Linked DNA regions of Homo sapiens: region 1 is linked to region 2. Evidence: promoter capture Hi-C in 16 types of primary human blood cells and fetal thymus (Javierre and others, 2016). All regions are on one chromosome and are shown on one strand. The core of a region is centred on a gene start or on the middle of the fragment in contact, and the rest is flanking DNA. Distances in the headings are between cores, read along the strand shown.

Region 1 (5,658 bases), core at 25-2,524, 440 kb before region 2:
AGCTTTAGCGAAATAAAAACAAATGTCAGTAAATACCAGCTCTGAGGATATTTTTGACAGAAAAGAGCTTAGTGTAATTCCATAAACCCTGTTCACATACTAAACTAAGCTGATAAAATTAGTTAACTACTTGTTTCAATACTTCTGGCATTTATCGAACTCCTTGGCTTCCTGGAAATGCTCATTAAACATTAGTGGACTGACCAAGTACAGTCAGCAAAACATTTAGTTATATGTTAACTTGCAATTAAATAACATTACTATATATGGCATCATCACTGATTAAATTTTATAAGTAAAGAACAATTGTTGCATTTATTGTTATGGTAGTATAATACAAAGTGTTGAGTCAGAAAAATCTGTTAAACACTGCTTCTGAGGTCTCAAAATACTTACAGAATTATAAAAATTTTTAACTTGACTTTGAAGTACAAATAATTTGATTTTGACCATGAAGGATAGACTTGGAAATACGTAAAAAACAAAACAACAACAAAAAAAAGCAAGCAAAGCATCAATCTCTAAAGTTCATGTTGAGAGGGCCAAGATGGGAATTAAAAATATTTGAGTCACTGCCTCATTTACATAATAGATATTATGACAATGACAGTGCTAAAGACAATTTATTTATCTCATGTAAGCAATAAAACTACCCAATGACATAAACACTGAGAAGCCTATTGATAATCAGAAGGGTTAATCACGTGCTCAAAGTGCTGCCTTATGTTATCACCTCAAAGCGTGTGAATGAGATGCAGCACTACAGCAGGACAGTGGTTATTCTCATTTTGCTTGTTTGAAAATAGTCAAGGTATTTAGACAATATAAGACATCACTTCGATTTAGGAGGAATTTGATTAGATGCCCATCTTGGCTGCATGGGGGCTGTGTGACCTTGTGCCACTTAATATAAATTATCCTAATCTATACTACAACAATGATAATAAATATCTCATAGTGTTTCTGTATGGATTAAATAGGGAAAATGTTCTGCCCCCCCTTTCTGTCCCTTTATCTACCTACTTATCTTTCCATGTGTCATTCTTTAGGGAGACTGACATACAGTAGATAACATCAAAAATTAGTTTTGATTGCCACGCTGCCATTTTATTCTTAGATTATGACTAGAGCTACCTGTCAAATTTTACTAACAATAATTGTCACCTGTATAATGCTTACTATGTGTAATGCAATATTCTTAACACTTCACCTATAACTCATTTAATTGTCACCAAAAAACTAACAAAATTACCATGGAGTTACTATCATTATGATCTTTTTCTTACAGATGAAGGAAACTAAGAAAGAGAGAATTTGAGATTTAGGATGTGATGGAAACAGGATTAGAACCCAAAATTCTGACTCCAAAGCCACATGATACACTGGTTCTCTATAAACAGGATTCTTTTTATTAGCTCCATATTTTGGATGAGAACATTAATGCTTAGGATAGTATCTCAAGGTCATTCAACATGTAGTTGACCAGTGCAATTCAAACTCAGGGGTGTATGAAATCAAAGCCCATGAAAGCAAGCATGAGGACGGGGAGAATATTAACAGTATGACCATTCTATGGTTCGCATACTTCCCAAAAATGTGGGGCATGTATTCTTGGCAACTTCACATTGGTCATTCCTTCTGATAGTCAAAAAATTCTATTTAGAGAAATATTAAAAGGAAGAGAAGAGGCATGAGGATAGTGGTAGGAAAAGACAGTGATTCTTGGATTCTTCTTTTTAAAAGGGAATTAACAAATAAATCTTACTAACATACTATGATTCAATAAGTTCTTTCCAAACATAACAAAACAATCTTATGTTATAAAATAAGTTAATTCAAGTTATAAGGTAGGTAGATATGCTTTGGTTCTCCTATCAGTAACAAAAGGCTTATTTAAACAAAAGACATTTTAGACCCTGTGGAAGCTATATCAGAAAGGGTGATAAAAGATAGATTACCTTGTCAGTACAATATTGAATGATAAATGTACTTTCAAAACTATTTGTACTCAAATCAGTGGTTCTTGCTCTCAGACCAACAAAAGTTGATTTTTTTTTTTTTTGCACGATTAAAGCCAGTCCAATAACCGCAGAAGCTACTTACTGAGGAAGGAACTGTTGCAAGTTGCTTAAGGGAATAATTTCACCAATACAACCAAGGGCTTTTACATGAATTCTTATGTCACTGGGGACCTAGTAATTGAAGGATTCCAAGCATGTTAATTTCTGAGAGACTCCTAGAGAATAGTTACTAGGCTTATTGCCAATGTAAATATTTTCTCTAGAAACACATTCATAATTTTCATGGAAATGCTGTTGTGTTAATTTGAAGAGGTAATTTTCATTTTCAGTAATATCGAGGAGGTTGTTTTTAACACTTGGCATTCTACAAAGGACCGTCTTTATTGTGGAGGTTCTTTACAAATAGTTCAAATATTTAAAACTGTAACTACTGCCATTTAAATTTCTCAAAAACCACATGGAAACTCTAAAAATATTATTTATGATTACTAGTACTGAAAATTAATGAATTATTTTTGTGGCATTGAAAGCTTCTGTAGAGCTTAGTATCACCAGATGTTTTCTGACAAGACAGAGGACTTTATAACACCTGGTACCAAAATGTATCAGGACAATGGCAAGGTCATCTCAGTAAACACAGGTTGTCATCATCAACTTCATTATTCTGATATACATTGTATAAGATAGCTTCATTCAAACAACTGTAGTTAATAGCTAATTGTAATTAGTGCAGCCCCACCAATTATAGTCTCTTTATTTTCACAGTATAATGCAGGTTTATTTATCATGCCTATATCTGGAGTATCACAGAGGAAATCTTCTTAAAACTTATATCCATTGCAAAAATCCATTTATGAACCTACTAAAACATGGTCAGAAGCCTCAGCTTAATTATTTTTTAGGAAAATAATTTCACAACTTCAATCCACTGTGTACATTCTAACTATTGAAAAAAAATCTCAGTTACTGTGAGCTCAAATCTGAATTCATATTTCCTCTTTATTTGTGGTATGATCCTTCTATATAACTGCACACAATACTGAACTTATTTTGTGATTTAGGAAAATATAGTGATAGGGTTGGTGAACTGAAAGTTAACTCTATAAAGAAAAAATGAGAGTTTGTCATTTTAGTATAATATGCTCATACAAGGAATTTATCATTTAAAAAATTTTGAGGTAATTATCATTTTGGTAATGAAGTTATTTGAAAAACATTTTAAAAATTTACTCCGTAAATCTAGTTTTTTGAATATACTTCTTTAGAAATCACAAATTTAAATTTTAAAAATTAATTATTTATAATTTCATTCATTAAAGGAAAAAAGTAACCGTTCTCTTTTGCTAATCCTACTCTTCGGAAAGGAAAGTGATAATATAATATTCTAATGGTTGAGTGATTTATGAGAATCTGTGGGCAGAGGTCTAAGCCTGTAAGACGGTTGTAAGAAGAGACTATTCTCTCCAGTATCTGTAGCGTTGTCTCTGCAGAAGAACACTTGCAATCCCTATTTAATTCTTGGACTTTGCACTACTCTTTATTGTGATTCTAAATTTCCCTGACTTAGTATCCAAGAGACATGGAGGGCAAGGAAAGATGGAAGGGAAAATTTCACATGACATAAGTCAATTGTACTTATTATTCAAGTATTCTAGAAAACCACAGGTTTTAGGTATATAGACATAGTTGAGATTTTTCTTTTTAACATCAGATCAACTGGAAGATAGAAGTACGATAGTGGCTGCTAGTGTTAGGTCTGAGAAGACACTGAAGATAATTTGGCTCTGGTACATGTAACATTATATTATCTGATATAAGCTAATCGCATAGTCAACTGATCGGGTTTATAGTCAACTGATCAGGTTTCTGCCATGTATGGATTACTGATAGAAGAAAGATACATAGTATATACATAATTAAATAGCCTCTGTTATCTCTATTTAAAAAGATATTTTAAAAATTATGAGACTACCACTTCAGGTAGGATATAATAATTAATTATAGTTTATCACTTCCACTGAGAATTTACAGGGAAAAAAAGGAATAAATTATAATTATCTTTGAGACCTGAAACTGTCTATCCCTATACACAACCTAGAAGGTAAGAATGAAAAACACACCTGAAGTCGCATTATTATGACTCTGAAGTTCCTTTATTTTCATTCGCACACCCTAGTTTTTATTTATTTTTTTTTTAGAGATTTTGCCTAGGCAAATATTTTGGCTGCTCATTACAAATATTTTCTGAACACCCCATGGATTATTCAATGAGAAACATCAGCAGAAAGAAAGTTTATTCCCTAGATTGTTTCAATTCCTTGCTTCAAAGCCCTTGCCTTCTATTTCCATTAACTTGGACTGCCATATCTTGATCTAATCCAATCAAATCTTTGCTTGGAAAAACTCAAAACAAATGTCCAATTATTAATAAATTATTTTCCTGCCTTTCCTTACCCCAAGACACTGTCAAAACTTTTTGAGGTTGTATTAGCCCTTACCAAGGTAAACAATAAATGGCTTTCTTATGAACTTGTTATTTTGATGATATTTGGGGAATTAGATTTTGCATCATATGTATACACTCATCACATGTACTAGAATGAGTATAATTCAAAAAAAGGTATAACTAGTTAGAAGTCAGCTGAAGACCTGCATATGTCCCTGCAGGTATTTATCAATTATGAGTATGAGTAAGAGATAGAACGTGGGTTTGTCCACAGTTTTTGGCAATTATGTAGTGCTGAAATACCTAAACTGATGGGAGGATCTCCAACAAATGAAGGACTTCCTATTCACGATATTTTAAATTCAAATTTTGGCATGTAATAAACTAAAGACATAGAAAATATTGGAAAAACAAACTGGTATTCTCTCAAATCTCTTAGTGTTAAGGACATAAAGAACTGCAGTGGATTTGCATTCTGAGAATTAAAGAAAATATAAAACCCAGGAGGAATTGTGACTTGGGGACACAGCCAAACTATATCAGTTGGAGTCTGTAAAACATGCAGAAATTGCGGTAATTGCATGGGATTAGAGTGCACAAACTGCATACATGTGGGGCCTCAAATACAGTTATCTTCCTTCCACAAGATCTGCCAAATTTTAAAGCTGTGTGTAATGTTAGATTGAAGATGCCAGAAACCTCTGAAAACACAAGAGTGGACATTCTTGTAGTCTCTTCTTGTTGAGGAGCCATAGAAAGTCCAAGTTCTTAAGTGCAAGCTGGAAGGAACATGCCTTAGACATAGGGTGAACTGGAGGTATACCGCACCTTACCGAAACAATAAGTATGATCAAACCCTAATTGTTTTCTGATCGGATTAAGTTTATCAGCCTTAACTTCATTACAGAGAGGATTGAACGCTCTGGTGAAAGAAATCTTCGGGAATATCTTTTTTTTTTTTTTTGTAGTCACTATTTGGCATGCAATAAGAAACAAATTACTAAATATAAAAATAGGCAAGTCCTTATAATGAATAAGCATGAATTTAAAAAGCTGAAATGCATGTTGACTCACAAATTGAAATTGGCAAGCAACTTTTTTTTGTTTTTAATTATAATATATTTAAGAAAATGCTATTTTAAAACAGAATTGGACAATGACAAAAGAGTGAAGAGATCCCCAAAGAAATTG
Region 2 (5,846 bases), core at 3,196-5,695:
TTAACAGATGCTTCGGTAAGCAAGGAGGTGCTGCAGTTCTTCAGAATCTTTTTATTTTCCTGAAATTTAGAAAACTTAGGCATGGGAACTCATAGATCCGCTGAAAGTAAGAAAGAATGGAATTGTATAGTGACTTTTAGTATACACTCACTCACTGATCAACATTAAACACTGGTAAACAAATCTAGTCTAATGTGACAAGATTAAAAAAAATTGCCACATTACATTTATCTGAACAGTCAAGTCTACTCTCTGGGTATGGTGTTAGTATGTCTTTACTCACAGACACTGTTTTCTAAGTTATGTTTGTGATGAGATATAAGAATGAGAAAAAGGATAATGTAGAATGGACTAAGCCATGAGTTACATATAGACACTTACAGTGCCAGTTACAACTCTGAATAAGAATTGTAAAGGCCTTTGTTATTCTCTGAGGAAGAAATGTATTAACTTATATTTCAAAATACCATCATTTAAAATACATACAACATTTTCTATATAAAGCGTCTGAACTTCCATATTTTACAAATGACAATTTTGGCTTTCTGTGGCCATCTATAAATCTGATTTTTCAGGTATTAAAATTATTTCATTATTTTATTGTTTAATCTCATATATTTTAAGACAAAAAATAAAGAGAATTGGGGAACCAAATGTAATGTTTAGAGTTTTAAAATATTTTTTATTCATTGGTAAGGATTTAGTGTCAAATGGCTAGTCCAGGATCAGGATCACCACTCATCCTCTGAAAGTTTTTTTTTTTTTTTTTTTGTGCGTGTGTGTGTGTGTGTGTACATGTGCATGTTGTACTGCACATATCGATTCAGTATCTCAATATCAAACCTCAAGTCATGGCATTTTGTACGAAATCACAGAGATGGAAAATTAAGCCAATTTTACTAGATGTATTTCTCATTTGAAAAAACAACTATGTACTCAAATAATTACTTAATATATTACACACACACTTATAATTCTTATCCTAATTAATATTTACACCATTTAACTAAGTTGTGATTTCTAAGCTTTTGTCACTTTTCCTGTTTCAGTCAAAGTACTGTGTTCATAAAGCTACTGTTATTGTTAGAAATTTACTTAACAGAAAACTACAGGGATGATTTTAAATTTATAGCCAATATGGAAAATATACAAATCCACTCTTCTTACTCACACAGTAATTTACAAGACATTTCTTATCCGTTGTCTAGTTTGGAGTGACTAGGACATAAGCACATGCCCAGAGCTTTTGCAAAATGTCTCATGCATAAAATATTAAGGAGTAGGTCCTTGGAAGAATTGGATACACATTTCATAGAAAGCTATTTGTGAGAATTTTCAAAAAAGATAGTTAGCTACCTGCCTTTCAAAGCCAATATTGAAGATTGACACTAAATCTACAACAGCAAATATATTTTGTAAAACATAAAAATATAGTAATGTTTTTAAAGTTAGAGGACCCTTAATAATGTCATACTAAAAACAGCTTCACATCTGCAGTTATTTAAAAACAGATCAGGTCAATAAATCTTTAGCCTGCCTTGCAATTCCAATGAAGTACAGACTGTAATTTTTATGATACTCTTACTTGCTTCATACTCTGGAACAAGATCCTTTGGGAAAGAGACACTAACAAAAACCACATAGTCATTGCTATCCACACCTATTATGAGGAGAAATACAAGTATCCTCTTCCCAGGTAGAATAGAGCATATTTCAAGATGGTGGGCTTTGACTCATTTATAGCTAATACATTTGCTATATTAACTCGAGATAAGTATTTTTAAAATTAAAGAGTGCCGTACAATAATTAGAGAAAAATCATTACGAGTACATTTTATAAAATAAAGTGTTTTCTCTGGTTTTATTTTAATTTTATATGTGGGTATGCATTGTGATTTTAAAATATTTCTTATTAGATTGAAGTAACTAAAAATTCCTGTTTAGAATTTTTAAAAATGTTTGGAAATAAACAGTTCCGTTATTGACCAAATTATACATTCTATGCCCAAACTCTGCTTTCCCCTCTTGCAGTAGCTAGAAATTTTACCCAGGATTAGTGGGGCATTCGTTAGACATTACTAATATGTCTCTAGAGATATTTTCCAAAGAAAATAATATAACCTAGGGGCAAGGGGAAGAAATATTCAAATGTCATTCCAAAATTAATCTTTAATTCCCCATCATCTAACATCTAGAAGAGACTACATTAGGAAATGAATAAAAACAGCGTGATTTTCAACCACAAAGGGTCTAAAGTCTATCAGGGGAAGATATATGGAAACAGATGGTTGTAATAAGAGATGAAATATAGATTAGGTATGTCTAAAATGTTTTTGGAAGACAAATATGAAAGCTGTTAACATGGGAAGGAAAAATTAAGTAGCTCTTCATAGAAGTGTGATATTTCAGCAGAGCTTGAAAGATAAGTAGGAGTTTCCATTTTCACTGTCTATTTTTCTGTAAAGAAAGAAACTAGGAATGGCAAGATTAAAAATAGAGAAGTATGGAAAGGCATTTTGTTATTGACAAATTGAGACCAATCATTAATTGAAACAATGGATGCTCCTGCTGACTGGAGAGTTGAGTGGAACCGGGATAATAAAAATATTCAGAGATGATACTATAAAAAGTCACATGTCCTTTCAAATATAATGCATGCTCTCCTTTGGATTCAAAGTAAAATAGTTTGTGTGCACACGTTTCAGGGTTTTGTGTTTTACAGGTGGAGAAAAACGAATGATAAGAAAAGAGACCAGAAATATAGGGTAAAGTTGGATAACGCTTGCTTTCTTTCCAGCCTGGACTACTATCTATTCTTTCACTGCTCTATCTTCAGACTCTATGCACGCTCTGAAAATTAATAGTCCCCACTATATATTATTGAATAAAGAACTGAATGAATTGAAATAACCTTCTACAAGAGTAGCAGTTAGACAAAATCCAGGAAAATGTTAAGGATAGAATGTTCAGTCTTGGTTACAGATTACAGTGGGTGGTATAGCTAGGAACTGTTAAAGGTAAGTTGCTTATCTACTCATGTTAGTGAAAATGGTTCAGTGTGTGGGGACTAGTGTGTAGGTTTTGAAACTGTGCTTGTAACTACTAGTAGATCTTAAATCCACTTTTTAGGATCCCAAGAAGCATTGTTTGAATTAAATAGAATGGAACAGATTACGCTAGAAAACGAAAGAATATGTAATACAAGCGGATGTCAGGGAAGCAAAAGTATTATTCTCAATATATCTATTAGTTCCATGCCATCTTATAACAAGTATTTATTTCTATAGTTTGTCATAAAAAAGTTTGAGTCTGAAAGTTAGTCTTCTTGAGAAGGGTTTGGTCTGAGCAGTGCAAAGACCAAAAATTCTCTTTTTACTTACCTCCCTTTTCTCTTTTCTTTTTCCTATTTTAACTCAAAATTGACGTTCAGTTTTTAACATGCAATTAGAGATTTGGAATTTATGGGTTCCTATGTCCTTATCCATCAATTTCCATGTTGCTATAATTAGACATTAATGTTCCATCTGTATTAGGGTTTTAGGATATCTAGTATATACTTACATATTGCATATCTAATATGTATCTTATACATATAATAAATATAATTTATTTAGAATAAAATTAAGGTAAATAAGTATTTTTTGAAAGTTACTACTTACCACATTATGTTGCTCAATAAATATGTTTATTAATACAAAACACAAATAACTGAAATGGATTCTTTGATTAATTGAGCAGAAGTAAATACTCAAGAGCTATTAGTAAACTCTGAAGAACAGTGAAGAAACACAGGCTCTTATTTTATTTATATATTTATTTGCATAGTAATTTTCAAAGCGTGAAATTTATAAGTTTTTAAGGAAAGCTCTATTTTCCATTACTAGATATAATGGTGGGAGAGAGAAGAAAGAGGAGTTGAGAGACATGATATTTGATACTATTTGGGTATTCAATAATTCAATTTTAAAATTATCCAAAATGAATAAGAAAATGATGATACACAACATTAAATAGAGTAGGAAAACAAAAATTAATGCAAAAAATGTAATTAAATCAGTTTTTTAATAAAAGATAAAAAAGCAGACATAAACTGAATGTAAAGAAACATAAACTTCCAAATCTCTTAGAAAGCAAATATCAATTTTACTCTAATTTACAGGATAAGATTATGTGAGGATTCATTCCCTACATTCATGTAAGTTCATGCTTTAGATATAAAGATGTTTATACGGTGTTATATTCTTTTTGCTCTCCATCACATTTCCAGAATTCCAGTATGCTAACAATCATTATATTAGTTAAATAAATTAATAAATAAATCTAATTAATTAAACTCTTTACAATACAATAAATATAAAAACACCACATATAGGATTTACAGTATTAAAATATGACTTAGACTTAACTCTTTTCTCTACTTCCACATTTAGATGGCCAGAAAAGATATGGCTCACATCAATTGCACCCAGGCGACAGAGTTTATTCTTGTGGGCCTCACAGACCATCAGGAGTTGAAGATGCCCCTCTTTGTGCTATTCTTATCCATCTACCTCTTCACAGTGGTAGGCAACTTGGGTTTGATCCTACTCATTAGAGCGGATACAAGTCTCAACACACCAATGTACTTCTTTCTTAGCAACCTAGCTTTTGTGGATTTCTGTTACTCTTCTGTCATTACACCCAAAATGCTTGGGAATTTCTTGTACAAACAAAATGTTATATCCTTTGATGCATGTGCTACTCAACTGGGCTGCTTTCTCACCTTCATGATATCAGAATCCTTGCTACTGGCTTCCATGGCCTATGACCGATATGTGGCCATTTGTAACCCTCTATTGTATATGGTTGTAATGACTCCAGGAATCTGCATTCAACTTGTAGCAGTTCCTTATAGCTATAGCTTCCTAATGGCACTATTTCACACCATCCTCACCTTCCGCCTCTCCTATTGCCACTCCAACATTGTCAACCATTTCTATTGTGATGACATGCCTCTCCTCAGGCTAACTTGCTCAGACACTCGCTTCAAACAGCTCTGGATCTTTGCCTGTGCTGGTATCATGTTCATTTCCTCCCTTCTGATTGTCTTTGTCTCCTACATGTTCATCATTTCTGCCATCCTGAGGATGCATTCAGCTGAGGGAAGACAGAAGGCTTTCTCGACGTGTGGCTCTCACATGCTGGCAGTCACCATATTCTATGGGACCCTCATTTTTATGTACTTACAGCCTAGCTCTAGCCATGCCCTGGACACAGACAAGATGGCCTCTGTCTTCTACACAGTGATCATTCCCATGTTGAATCCCTTAATCTATAGCCTCCAGAATAAGGAGGTGAAAGAAGCTCTGAAGAAAATCATTATCAATAAAAACTAGAGTTTTGTGTTTATAAAATTAAGAAAGTAACTTGAGTAAGGAAAAATGGACTTCTTTCATGGTATGATTTTTTTCCCAGTATAAGTTATCAGGATCCTTGTTTCTCAATATGTGATGTATACATATATTTTCGCTGTGTAATACAATTTTCTAGAGAATTTCTCTTAGAACGTTAGGTATAAAAGTAACTATAAGAATTTACAACACTTCTCTTATTTTTCAAGTGGAAAATATATTAAAATTATTAATTTTCTTGCATAATATTTTATACCAATTTTCCTATTTCTCAAATGAAGAATGCATAAAAAGTCATCATCAAGATATATAATTAGTTATGTGCAGAGCACAGACAAAAGTTAACTCCTCTCCCCGTCCATCCCCAGTTCAGGATTCTGAAGCTGTATTTACAATATCCCACGTGAAAAATAAAGACACATAGTCTAAACATTTTCTTTCTCAATTCCTAATTTT

What was found. Contacts are between HindIII fragments. The CHiCAGO score rates a contact against its expected background, and 5 or more counts as called.
Region 1: a contact is called between a fragment that was not itself captured here and the fragment with the promoter of OR8U1 in region 2, in 1 of 17 cell types (erythroblasts). The highest score is 5.6, in erythroblasts.

Annotation. Positions count from the first base shown.
Region 1 is chr11:55,936,970-55,942,627 of GRCh38, forward strand. No RefSeq gene overlaps it. Among named protein-coding and RNA genes, the nearest start is that of OR5I1, 3.4 kb to the left of the region's middle. The HindIII fragment of the contact is 2,549 bases long and covers 1-2,549 here.
Region 2 is chr11:56,371,179-56,377,024 of GRCh38, forward strand. It overlaps OR8U1 (olfactory receptor family 8 subfamily U member 1), which reads left to right and starts at 4,446. Exons shown (of 1, transcript NM_001005204.1): 1 at 4,446-5,375. The coding sequence starts at 4,446. The coding sequence ends at 5,375. The HindIII fragment of the contact is 6,958 bases long and covers 1,024-5,846 here.